Linked DNA regions of Homo sapiens: region 1 is linked to region 2. The links are contacts of gene promoters, found by promoter capture Hi-C in blood cells and fetal thymus (Javierre and others, 2016). All regions are on one chromosome and are shown on one strand. The core of a region is centred on a gene start or on the middle of the fragment in contact, and the rest is flanking DNA. Distances in the headings are between cores, read along the strand shown. Region 1 holds the start of MIR6762 (microRNA 6762). Region 2 holds the start of SDSL (serine dehydratase like).

Region 1 (6,494 bases), core at 3,928-6,427, 130 kb before region 2:
GCAAGGCCCAAGGTAGAAGGGGTAGTCAGGACACACCTGTTGGATGGACAGATGGTTAGCTGGGCCCTGCCCAGAGACAGGCAGGGAGGATTTCTCTCTCTTTTTTTGGGGCAGGATCTTTCTCTGTCACCCAAGCTGGAGTGCAGTGGCGTGATCATAGCTCACTGCAACCTCAACCTCCTGGGCTCAAGGGATCCCGAGTAGCCTCAGCCTCCCAAGTAGCTGGGATTACAGGCACACAGCGCCACAATGCCTGGCTAATTTTTGTATTTTTTGTAAAGATGGGGTCTCACTATGTTGCTCAGGCTGGTCTCCAACTCCTGGGCTCAAGTGGTCCTCCTCTCTTGGCTTCCCAAAGTGCTGGGATGATAGGTGTGAACCCCTATGCCTGGCCAGTTTCTCTTAAGCAGATTACCCAGTTGGCCACCATCTAGGCCCTCTCCTGGAGCACCTGCTCTCACGCTGGGACATGAGTGAGGCCTGGGCTCAGCCTGGAGGGCTTATGGCCAGCAGGGAGGCTGCAGACTGTGGAGGAGCCTCAAAGAGGAGACCGAGCATGGGGGAGGATGTGGCGGGGCTGCTGCCGATGGATTCCTTCTGTCCACAGTCTATGGGGTGGAGCTGTTCCTGAAGGTTGCCGGCCTGGGCCCTGTGGAGTACTTGTCTTCCGGATGGAACTTGTGAGTGGACAGCATGTTTCTGACCCAAAGCTGAGACTCTTGAGGATGGCCCCAGACCCTTCTCTGCACACCCTGATCCCGGGCCATTTCTGGAATCGCAGAGGGAGGGTCTGAGGATGGGCTGAGGCCTATGTCTCCCTCAAGCAGCCCTGCCCACAGCCCAGGAACTCCCCAGGGTCAGGCCCTTGTCTGAAGCCTCTCAGACCACCCACACCGTCCTTCTGGAAACGGCCTCTTGAGGTGCCATAGACTGATTGGCTCTTCCTGACTCATTAAACTTTTTTCTCTTCCATAAAAGCCACAATGCCCACAGAAAAGAATGCTCCCCCCCTTCCTTGATCAGCAGTAATGAGACCCCATGTGGCCCTTCTCCCTATTCCCCAGAGCGTTGGAGGTCACTTCCCTGCCCTGTTCAAGTTAACCGGCCTGTGAAGTCAGGCTGCACTCATGAGGTCTTGGGCCGCGAGGGTGAGCGGGTTAACACGCAGAGCGGAGTTGGGAGGAGCCGACAGCACGTGTGTGCCCTGCGTGTCTGGAGAGGAGAGAGGGTCCTCTGGCTTGGGGCAGGGCGAGCTGTTCTCCCGATGGGAATCTCACTGGAAGGGCCTGCTCTCTTCCCTCAAAAAGTTCCTTGGGGTCAGGCTGGTCTGCAGTGTGTAACCAGATGTCTGTTGAGCGGAAGACGAGGCCTGTCTCCAGGGCTGCGGAGGCCAGGGCTGCAGAGGCCGGGGCTTCTTTCCTTCTTGTCGTTAGACCAGCATGGGGCCCTTTGTAGGGGTTCCCGGGCATTTCTGGCCTTGGGGTCAGAGCACTGAGGCCTGACCCGTGAGACGCATGCTGGGACAGGGCCTGGCCACCTTGAAACCCCAGGGTGGCAGGAAGTTCTTCCCGCAGCCGGCTGGTTCCTGTTGGTGTTGCTGTGTCTGGGCTCTGTGGGAGGGTGGCTGTGCACAGGGCCAGGGAGGGGAGCAGGCGCAGGTAGGCTCAGGGCCACAGGGTGGACCTTGGCCTCTCCCCTACTGCAGGTTTGACTTCTCCGTGACAGTGTTCGCCTTCCTGGGACTGCTGGCGCTGGCCCTCAACATGGAGCCCTTCTATTTCATCGTGGTCCTGCGCCCCCTCCAGCTGCTGAGGTGATGGGCAGGGCAGAGCCGGAGACAGGGAGAAAGAGAGGGAGGACGGGAATGCCCCAGGATTGATCCGGGAAGTGACCCAGAATGAGCCAGAAGGTTCACAAGCCAGAGTCACAGATGTCACCCCCTGGAGAATCACCATGGGGTCAACATCCCCACCCCTGAGGGTGTGCAGGCTGCCTGTGCCCTTCCCCTCACTGCACCAGGTGCCTCTGGGCAGAGAAACCCAGCCCATGACTCATGTGCACCCCACCTGAGGTGGCATTGCACCAGCGACAGGAGCCCATATGCTCAAGTCACAGATCACAGAGCCACAGGTCTGAGGGTTGGAAGGGCCTTTCAGGGGCCCTGCGTGCTTTTCTGGCTCAGCGTCTTATGGAGAAAAACCCTCGTGTGGGTCCCACTGGTTTCCCAGGGACACTGGAGAAAGTCCCAGACGAGCCTGCCCCACTGACGGTGTCTCTTCCTAATGAGGGGTCCCGAGGTCCTGTGCCCTCAGAGCCTGGGCTTGCCTCCTGACCCTCCAGCTGCAACCCCATCCACGTCCGCCCCATCCTCTCCCAAGGCGGGACAGGCGGGGCAGGTGCGGGGAGGGGTGGTGGCGTCTATGGAGGAAAAGCCTACCCCCTTGGCGTGTGGGGGTGGCCTGGGGCTGCTCCTGAGTGTCCGCCTCCGTCCCGCCCCCTGCCACCCTTCTTCACTGGTGAGCTCCATTGCCCCCGCTCCCCGGGGCACATGGGCTTCTCCCCGCTCTTTCCCAGGAGCAAGGCCTTGCTCCTGTCTGAGCCTGCAGCTCTACTGCAAGGAGATGTGGCCTGGCCCTGCTCCTCTTCGTGGAAGGACCCCGCCCAGCCGGTGTCCTGGGGCTGCCACCATCCCTTCCCTCATGCATGAATCACCTGAGCCCAGCTCAGGGTTGGTGGCGCCCAAGGGAGTGGACGCAGGTGGAGGAGAGGCCCTCACCTGTCTTCACCGCATGGCGTGTGGAAGGCGGGGCCGGCATGTTCTGAGGGCGGGGGCTGAGGCGTGCACCTGTGTGTGGAGGTGACGGGTGTCCTCCTCGCTCAGGTTGTTTAAGTTGAAGGAGCGCTACCGCAACGTGCTGGACACCATGTTCGAGCTGCTGCCCCGGATGGCCAGGTACTGCCAGCCCCCACCCTGGCCTGCAGGTCCAGGTGCCGTGTGGCAGTGCCCCGTGGGGGCGGGAGCCGAGTGGCAGTCGGGGGAAAGGAGTTCCACAAAGGACTGCAATCGAGGGCCTGACGGGGCTCCAAGGAGCCTGGAATCTTGACCACCACAGGTCTCCTGGGCACCATTTTTCTCCACTGACCTGTCTGACATATTTAGTAGGGAGGGCAGGGAGCTGTCAACTCGCTTACCACCTGTGTCTACATTCACAGGTAAGGGGTCACCTGTGAGTCTACCTTCACAGGTAAGGGGTGAATCTCTGGGAAAGGGGCATTTGTTCATAGCGTCCTGACTTGAGCTGTTTTTCACCCCAGAGCTGCCCCACGAGGCCCCTTCCCCGCAGGCACTTTCCAGTTGGTGAACCGACCAGGGGCATGGCCCTGCAGTCAGCCCCACGGGTCCGAGGAGGCCGGGGCTGCAGAGGAGCCGTTCCCTCCTGCCGGCCCCGCGTCACCCTGCCCCTGTCGCCCCACAGCCTGGGCCTCACCCTGCTCATCTTTTACTACTCCTTCGCCATCGTGGGCATGGAGTTCTTCTGCGGGATCGTCTTCCCCAACTGCTGCAAGTGAGTAGGCCCCACCCAGCCCCAGGCAGCCTGCATTTCCCGGGCAGAGGGCTGGCCAGGGCCAGGATTGGTGTCCTTGTGGCCTTGGGGTCCTCGGGGATGTTCCTGTCTAAGCAACCACCTTGCTTTGCTTTCAGGGCTTAGTTGAGTGCAGTGAGCTAAATGAGGGGCCTGGACTCGGGGTCCCTGTTTCTCCATCCCCCAGGCAGGGTTGGGAGCTGTCAGCTCACCCTCTGCCGAGGGCTGGAGGCCACCCCCACAGTAGCCTGGGTCCCAAGGTCAAGTCCCATGGCTTCCTCCCACTTCTCTCCTGGAGTGGCTGGGGACCTGGGCCAAGACCAGTCTTCTAGGGACAGCATCGTAGGATAAGACAGACGGACACGTGCAGGAAGGTCATGGTGCTCAGGGATGGGGAGCAGAGAGTGAAATCTCCCATGAGCACTCCCTTTCTCCTGAGCCGCCACAGTGAAATCACTGCACACTGCCATTCATTCATCCTCAATTCAGAGAGTCCTCTTACATTTGGTCTTTACAGCCTCAAGCACCGATGAAGAAACAGTTTTACAAAGACACTGGTAGCTTTGAGACCCAGTTTGAGTGTCAAGCTTGGTCTGGAACCAGAAGCCTATAGCAGTGGGTCCCAGACTTTAGAGCCCATTGCAGTCACCAGGGAGCTTAGTGCAAGCTCCAGACCTCACTCTTGTGTCTGATGCATGCGTGTGGGAGGAGGCTCCCTGGTGGCCCAAGCACTAGACTTTTATAAACATTAGCATGGATATTAACAGAACAGCCATAAAAGATTGGAAGGAAAGTGGCAAATAAGAGCTCCTCAAAACAGGGCCAACCTTTTCAAATACTTGCTCAGGCCAAGTATTGGGGAAGCCCCAGTAGGGAATTCCTTCCCTGGGACTGTGGCCTAGTGTCCAGCCTCAAGAGCAGATCCTAGATGGGGCAGGTGCAGAGGAGGCCCTTGCCTCTCCTCCCTCCCCTGCAAGCAACGGTGAGAGAGAAGGCCCTGCCTGCAGCAGACAACTTCCAGGTGACAGAGGTGGGTCAGGCTGGCCAGGGGATCCCGCCAAGCCCAGCAGGCAGGAATAGCCAAGGGCATTCCTTCAGCAGGGACCCAGGCATGAGGTGGAGAGGGTTAGGCAGGAAACCAGGCTGCGGGCAGAACAGAAGGATCCTTGGCCAGAACTCGGTTTGTTTCAGACTTCTGTCCTCTCTGGAGGTGACTGATCGCCTTGTGACCCTCCCTCCTTTCTCCCTTGTGCTCCGGCCAGCACGAGTACAGTGGCAGATGCCTACCGCTGGCGCAACCACACCGTGGGCAACAGGACCGTGGTGGAGGAAGGCTACTATTATCTCAATAATTTTGACAACATCCTCAACAGCTTTGGTGAGTGGGAAAAATCACAGGGGGCACATTCCCTGGGGACCCCACCCTTGTCACCCTTGTCACCACGGGTCCCAGAGGTGGTGTAGCAAGTGTCTGGGCCACACTTTCTGGAAGCCTCCCTGGCCCAGGTGGAGGACTTGGTCTGCCCAGCTTTGGCAGTACAGTCCAGGCTGGATCCTGGAGCTCACTCAGTTGCCTGATTCCACTCTTTCCTGATATTTTCTCAGTACCGGGGAGGACAAGAGTTGCAAGCCTTAGCTGGGCGGGGTCCCCTCATCACAGTGCCACTTGCAGAATGGGACCCAGCCACACCACTGCTGCTGCAGCTGCACTGCCCCCTGGCTCAGACTGCACACAGCCCTCTGCCCACTCCCATGAAGAGGCGAACACAGCCAAACCGCCTCTCCAGAAAAAGGGTGTGCCCCCATGACACCCCAGATCTGCACCCAGTAAGATCCAGATAGTCTGATGTGGCACAGGCTGCTGAGGCAGAGGGTGTGTTCTCTTGGGGGCAGGCCATGATGTCCTGTGGAGCCAGCGCCCTAGGAGTGCCTTGCCTGGTCTTTCCTGGAGCTCACAACCCAAGCGGTCATATGGTGACCCTCTCATCTTAGCACATGGCACCCAGGATAGGTGGCAAGAGGCCACTTGAAATTGACTTTGAAGTGGGGTCTCATCAGGATGCTTCTTTCTCTCTTCCCTCGGCAGTGACCCTGTTTGAGCTCACAGTTGTCAACAACTGGTACATCATCATGGTAAGAGCTCGGGCAGCTCTGGGGGTATCTTCCCGCCAGCCCTGGGGTCGGCCCTGGGTCTCCCCCAACCCAGAGTATATAATTCTTCCCGTAGCTTGCAGGGCTGGGGGTCTTGAGTCATGCTGTGTTGGTGTTCAGTGGGGAGGCCACAGGATGGCTGGGCCCCAGGAGCCACCCCTCCCAGTGTTGGCTGGACTCGGCTGTTACTCCCATCTCCCTGCATGTCCCCAGCAGCCAGGAGATGCCACTTAGACTCTGGGTCTCTGTCCTGTCTCGCCCACTGTAGAGATGACTTTTCCCTCTAGTGACAAAGTGGCGAGCATTGCTGATCTCTTTATTCCATTCCTTAAACTTTCCCGACTCCCAGCCCTACTGGGATAAAGGCTGCCCTGGTTCTGGATCCAGTCGTCCAGGGGAGTGGCCAGGGCTCCTTCAGCAGTCAGGAATTAGTGTTAGGCCCAGAGGGGCAAGCTTCCTCTCCTCCATCTCTCACAACCAGCCACAAATCACGGTGGGGTCTGCGAAGAGCCGGGGCCATGGAGCAGCCTGTGTAGACGGGGACCTGCCCTGCATGGGCACCCCCTCACTGGCTGCTTCCCTTGGTCTCCAGGAAGGCGTCACCTCTCAGACCTCCCACTGGAGCCGCCTCTACTTCATGACCTTTTACATTGTGACCATGGTAGGTCCCGGACCACAGAACGCTCTTTGTCCTTCGTCTTCCACATCACCAGCTGCCCCTGCTCTTCAGCCTGCAGCGTCAGGGAGTGGGGCTGGGTC
Region 2 (6,654 bases), core at 3,150-5,649:
GAGGACAGAGGGAAAGTTCCTCTGTATAAAGGTCTCAAAGGTAAACACTTACAAGGGGTCAATCAAGGGGCGGTTAGGTGTTGGGGCTGCAGTAGGGAGAGGTTAGGACAGCGAGACACATAGAGCCATGTCCCTTTACAGAGGACAGTGTGCCCCAGCTCCAGCCAGGGGGAATGTGACCTCCCAGTGTGAGACCCTCTCTGGTCTCCAGTGCTCCAGTGATTTGTCATCTTGGCCAGGGTTGATGAGTCTGAGAACTTAGGTAAGATGCTCTGTTGTATTGGGTGTTGGGAGACCTGCACCCGAATTCCGGCACAGTTATTACTCACTAGCTGGGGCTGCCTGAGCCTCAGCTCTTTTGCCATTTAGGGGAACTAAGCCTTCGGCCTTGGGAAGCATATGACGAAGAGTCCAGGGTTAAATCTGCAAATTGGGAAAGGAAAGGCTAATCTCAGGCGTCAGAGGCTTCGTCCCTCTTCTCCACGCAATTCCCTTGCCCTGGGAACAGGAAGGTCAGCCAGGGGTGAGGATGGTGTAATGAAGCTTAATGAATAACCCAGGGGACTGGCCGGGGTGGGTGTTTTGCGGCCCAAGGTGTCAGGGACAGGGGCTGGCTGACGAACATGGCTCTGGTGGGGACAGGTCAGTGACCTGGCCCACCTCTCCAGCCTCATCTGCTCTCCAATGCAGCCACGTGGCTTCCCCAGCCCATCCTCTTTGTCACCCAAGCCAGGAGCTCTGGAGCCTCGTCCCTCTGGGTCTGAGCCCTGACTCTGCTACTGCTGTGTGACCTTGGGAAAGCGACTTGGCCTCTCTGGCCCTATTTCCACAATGTAGGGTTTATTATAATACTTACTTTTCCAGGTAGTTGTTAGCATTCTGTAATATAATGACATCATGGTACTTTGAACGCTTACGTGCCACCTTTGCAACTTTTGCCATATTGTCCCATCACCTCTTTTATATTAGCAATACAAAACAATAGCAGCTGGGCGCCGTGGCTCATGCCTATAATCCCACCACTCTGGGAGGCCAAGGCAGGCAGATCACTTGAGGTCAGGAGTTTGAGAGCAGCCTGGCCAACATGGTGAAACCCTGTCTCTACTAAAAATACAAAAATCAGCCAGGCGTGGTGGTGCAAGCCTGTAATCCCAGCTACTTAGGAGGCTGAGGCAGGAGAATCCCTTGAACCCGTGAGGCAGAGTTTGCAGTGAGCCAAGATCGCGCCATTGCACTCCAGCCTGGGCGACAGAGTGAATGGTGAGACTCTGTCTCAAAAAACAAAACAAAATAAAGCAAAAGCAACAGCAGCGAACACAGAGCACTAACTACTGTCCTAATATTTTCCTGCATTAATGCATTTGATCCTCACATCCACTGTACTAGGGAAGTAGTGTTTTATCCCCATCTTACATTTGAGGGAACAAGGCACAGAGAGGTTAAGTGACTTACAAAAGGTCACAGGGTCACACAGTGAGAAAGTGGCAGAACAAGTATTTGTATCAGAGCCTGGCTGCAGGTCTGTGTTTTAACTACTAGGCATGCTGCTTGTTCATGCCAGAAACTACTACTACTATTATTGCTACTAATAATTTATATACAAATATATATATTATATACAAATATATATATATTTATATACAAATATATATAATATACAAATATATATTTATATACATATACATATTTATATACAAATATATATATTTATATACATATATATTTGTATACAAACATGTATATTTGTATACAAATATATATATTATATACAAGTATATATATTTATATAAATATATATTATATACAAATATATATATTTATAAACATATATATACACACACACATATATATATTTATATATGTTTTTTAAGACGGAATTTCGCTCTTGTTGCCCAGGCTGGAGTGCAATAGCACGACCTCGGCTCACTGCAAACTCCACTTCCCCGGTTCAAGTGATTCTCCTGTCTCAGCCTCCCGAGTAGCTGAGATTACAGGCGCCCACCACCATGTCCAGCTAGCTTTTTGTATTTTTAGTAGTGATGGGGTTTCACTACATTGGCCACGCTCAAACTCCTGACCTCAGGTGATCCAGCTGCCTCGGCATCCCAAAGTGCTGGGATTACAGGCATGAGCCACCATGCCTGGCCAATTAATATATTTTTTAAAGAGGCTCCATTTTTAAACTTTAATACCTACCTTAGCTTCTTCCTAAGCCATCATATCCATGAAACTATGGGTCTGATATTTTATATGTACATACACATACATATGTATACACATATATATATACCTACATACATACACACATCTTTCCTAATGCACACAGAAATAGATTGCCAACTATTAAAAAACCTTTGGGGGCTGGGCGCAGTGGCTGTTGCCTGTAATCCGAGCATTTTGGGAGGCTAAGGTAGGAGGATTGCTTGAGGTCAGGAGTTCAAGATCAGCCTGGGCAGCACAGTGAGACCTCGTTTGTAAAACAAACAAACAAACAAACAAACAAACAAATAAACAGTGTGGGTTACGCTGGACAGCATGCACGTGTTGGTGTACAGTAGACATGCACTAAATGCAGCTAGTCTGCTTCTTGTCAAAGTCTGAGCTGTGTGCTGAGTCTCTGCCTACTTCAAGAAGCCCTCCCTGATCTTGCCCCATCCCCAGCTACCCTATGGGGACTTTCTGCCCTCTGTCATCTTAGGAAGTGTTATTGTTGCTACCGAATTGGGTGTCTTCCTCTCCCCTCCATGCTGGGGGCCACTTCAAGGCACAAACTGGATTTTATCACCTCTGTGTCCCCAGTACCCAGTCCAGGACAAGGCACCCAACAAGGATGGATGTGTGTCTAAAGCGAGGATGGGTAGAAACTTGCCAGAGTCCACATTAAGGATCACGGCCAAGCAGCTCCATCTAACCCCAAGTGGCTGGGAGTTAATCATCAAACCTGGGGAGATCAGAAACAGCCCAAGAAGGACACACAACATCTGTGATGCCAGGTCTTCCTGTTCCCACTTTCCACATAGGGAAACTGAGGCCCAGAGATGGGCACGAGCTGCTCAGGTTCACCCAGTGAGATGGTGCAGAGACAAGACATGAATTTGACCATGTCATTCCCCCCACCTAAAGCCTTCTGTGGCTCCCTAGTGCCCCTGGGTAAGGTCCAAACTCTGGATTGGTACAGGCATCCCTGTGGACTCTGATCTCTGCCCACATCTCCAGCCTCAACCCCACTTGCTTCCCCACCCCTGCCTTCTCCCTCCCAGCCCCACTGGATACTACCCTGACCCTGGAATATATCATGTTTTTCATTTCCAGACCTTTGCACTCCCTGTGCCTGACTCCTGGCTCCACTCAGACTTCCCCTCCTCCAGGAAGCCTCCCCAGCCCCCCAGGGCCAGGCGGGGTGCCTGCTCTGGGTTCCACAGCCCTGCCCCACCCTGCCAGCTGCTAACATCTGATAGCACTAATAAGTGCTCTCTAATGGCCCTCTCTAAGGGCTTTGTGAAGGCAGAGGACATGCTATTTTGTTTGAGGCCAAAGTTCCAGGGATTGGCACATAGTAGGTGTCCAATAAACATTTAATGAATGAATGAATGGTCAGTCATTCATCTGAGTAGCAAATAATTGCTTGGGTTCTCATGCTGCGTGTAAAATATCCGAGACGGAGAGGTGCTTCAGACAAAAATATACCTTTCCCATGTCACAAATAATAATTATAATAATTGTTTCCTTGGCCAGGTGCAGTGGCTCACGCCTGTAATCCCAGCACTTTGGGAGGCAGAGGCAAGCAGATCACCTGAGGACAGGAGTTCGAGACTGGCCTGGCCAACATGGTCAAACCCTGTCCCTACTAAAAATACAAAAATTAGCTGGCGTGGTGGTGGGTGCCTGTAAACCTGGCTACTTGGGAGGCTGAAGTGGGAGAATCGCTTGAATCCAGGAGGCGGAGGTAACAGTGAGCCGAGATCGCACCATTGCACTCCAGCCTGGGGGACAAGAATGAAACTGTGTCTCAAAAAAAAAAAGTTCCCTTGTCCTTGTTTTCCCATCCCAGACCTAAGCTGACCCCAACAGTGGTTCAGCATCCGGGACAATCACTAGACCTAAAATGAGAAGACATGGAGATGCCTGCATCCCGGAAGAGATGGCCCAGGGCCAGGGGTAAAGGCTGTCTCTGCCCCTTGCTGTCTGGGAAGCTTTGGCCAAATAAGTTCCCTTTTCTGAGTTTCAGTTTGCTCATCTGTCAAATGAGACAGGGTGGTGCATGAGTCATAGGCAGTGCCCGGGAAAGCGGTGAGGGTTGCTCTCATCCCCTCTCCTCCTCCGTCTTCACCCGGAGGCTTAGGGTCTGGAGCTTTCTCTTTAACAAAGGAGGAGGGACCAAGGTTGCCGGAAGCTGCCTGAAGCTGGACAGAGCCGGTTCCTGGAAAGAGCTGGTTCCCTGGCAGGCTGGAGGGCAGGAGCTGGGGCCACGCTGGTCTGGGATAGTTGGGCAGGGAGGTAAGGGGTCTGGGGCCAGCTGGGGCCCCTGGGGCTCAGTGTGTGTGTGAATGAGAGGCTGATGAGAGGCTGCAGGAGTTTGGGAGGCTTTGGGCAAAGTCCAAGCTGAGCAGGTGGGAGTGAGAGGGCCTGAGCGTGTTCTAGGCCCTCCTGGGAATGTCGATTGAATTCAGGGTGCCCTGCAGAAGAAAGTGTTGTGCTGGGGACCCTGAAGGGCGAGAGTGGGTTCTGCCTGCCAGAGGGGCAGGGTTGGGCATTCTGCCAGCCAAGGGGCCAGCCCGAGGTGTCCCAGCCCTGGCACCAGGGATTTGGCTGTGGAGTGCCACCAAGGTGGCCTCTGGGGAAAGGCTTTGGGGACAAGTGAGGTGGACAGCACTGGTGGTCCTTACCTCAACTCATAGATGTGACAGGTAAGGCCCAGTGACAAAAGTGACTTGGCCAAGGTTGGCATGACTGGGACCTGAGCCTGAGCCCCCTGCTTTCCCCTGGGTTATTCCACAGCAGGGAGACCCAGGTCCCCCATTTCAGCCCTGGTGGCTGCCATACGGGACAAGAGGTGTGTGTCCCTGGGCCAAGACAGCTCAGTCCCAGACCTCAGGTGCCTGATGGGGTCTGGGGTTGATAAGGCTGTTGGCAACTTGGGGCTTTTTCATTTAACTGATGCCTGCTGTCCTCTTGTGAGTCAGTATAACCAAGAGGGCTGGGGAAGCCTGGAAACTGAGCCAGGAGCATTTGGTTCCAAAGGACAATTGGCAATAAATATTAAATGCATGCAGCTTTCATAATAGTAACGATAACACTAGTATATTAGAGAAAGTATAGCATCGCGGTTAATAGCACAGATGCCAAAGACACTGCCTGGTGTGAATTCTGGCTATGCTGTTTCTAACTGTGTGAACTTGGATAAGTTACTTAATCTCTCTGGACCTCAGGTTCACTGTTTATAAAATGGAGTCAATGGTGAGTTAATGACTCATCTGTTGTGAGCCAACAGGTGGCTCACACCTGTTATCCTAGTGTTTTGAGAGGCAGAGACAAGAGATTTACCTGAGGCCAGGAGTTCAAGACCAGCCTGGACAACTCAGCAAAACTGCATCTCTATAAAAATTAAAATATCAGCCGGATACAGTGGTGCATGTCTACAGTTCCAGCTACTCAGGAAGCTGAGGTGGGAGGATTGCTTGAGCCCGGGACTTCAAGGTTACAGTGAGCCATGATCGTGCCACTGCACTCCAGCCCAGGCAACAGAGTGAGACCTTGTCTCTAAAACAAACACCAAAAAAACAAGAAAGCGGAAGGATTATGGAGTAGGGGGAGTTCATCCTGACAATCCCAGGATCCCCAGGGGAAAAATCTGGGGATTTCACCAAAAAGGAAGAGAGACCCAATTCCAAGTGGACAGACACCCAACATGGGTGCCCTTACCATGCAGGCTCATTGAATCCTCACAATAGTCCTGCCATGTACACGCTCTTCTTGCAGTTTGTTGTGTGGTTGGTTGGTTCTCATTTTTCGGGTCTAATTTTTAATTTTTTATTATTTTTTTTGAGACAGAGTTTCCCTCTTACTCTCTAGGCTGGAGTGCAATGGCGCGATCTCGGCTCACTGCAACCTCGCCTCACCGCAACCTCGCCTCTCAGGTTCAAGCAATTCTCCTGCCTCAGCCTCCCGAGTAGCTGGGATTACAGGCATGCGCCACCATGCCCGGCTAATTTTGTATTTTTAGTAGAGACGGGGTTTCTCCATGTTGGCCAGACTGGTCTTGAACTCTTGACCTCAGGTGATCCGCCTGCCTCTGCCTCACAAAGTGCTGGGATTACAGGCATGAGCCACCGCGCCCTGTCTCAGTTCTTAGTTTTAATGGTCACTTCCTCTAAGAGGTCTTTCCTGACCTCCATACCCAAAGTAGGTCCCCTTGTTCTTCTCTTTAGGACTCCCTATATGCGTGTTTCCCTCTTAGAAGTTTTCAACATTTCTGATTATTTTGTTTGTCTATGCAGTTATTTGTTAAGTGCCCATCTCATCAGGCTATAATTCAGCTCCAAGGTTGATGTCTATCTTGTCCACAGTGGTATCCCCTGTTGCTAGGTCAGGGCCTGCATCTTGTAGGTGCCCTGTAAACATGCTAAAGTAAGGGTAAGCAGGTCACCATGCTCA

The links. The method cuts DNA at HindIII sites, captures the fragments that hold promoters and counts their contacts. A CHiCAGO score of 5 or more calls a contact.
Region 1: a fragment that was not itself captured here is called in contact with the fragment with the promoter of SDSL in region 2 in 1 of 17 cell types (M0 macrophages); the score reaches 5.5 in M0 macrophages.

What each region holds. Positions count from the first base shown.
Region 1 is chr12:113,285,282-113,291,775 of GRCh38, forward strand. TPCN1 (two pore segment channel 1) reads left to right here. Exons shown (of 28, transcript NM_017901.6): 18 at 608-680; 19 at 1,706-1,813; 20 at 2,882-2,953; 21 at 3,477-3,566; 22 at 4,847-4,962; 23 at 5,671-5,717; 24 at 6,328-6,396. MIR6762 (microRNA 6762) reads left to right here and starts at 6,242; the gene lies at 6,242-6,327. RefSeq lists an enhancer at 2,439-2,606. The HindIII fragment of the contact is 2,017 bases long and covers 4,170-6,186 here.
Region 2 is chr12:113,417,981-113,424,634 of GRCh38, forward strand. It overlaps SDSL (serine dehydratase like), which reads left to right and starts at 4,400. Exons shown (of 8, transcript NM_001304993.2): 1 at 4,400-4,497. RefSeq lists an enhancer at 157-657. The HindIII fragment of the contact is 13,599 bases long and covers 4,192-6,654 here.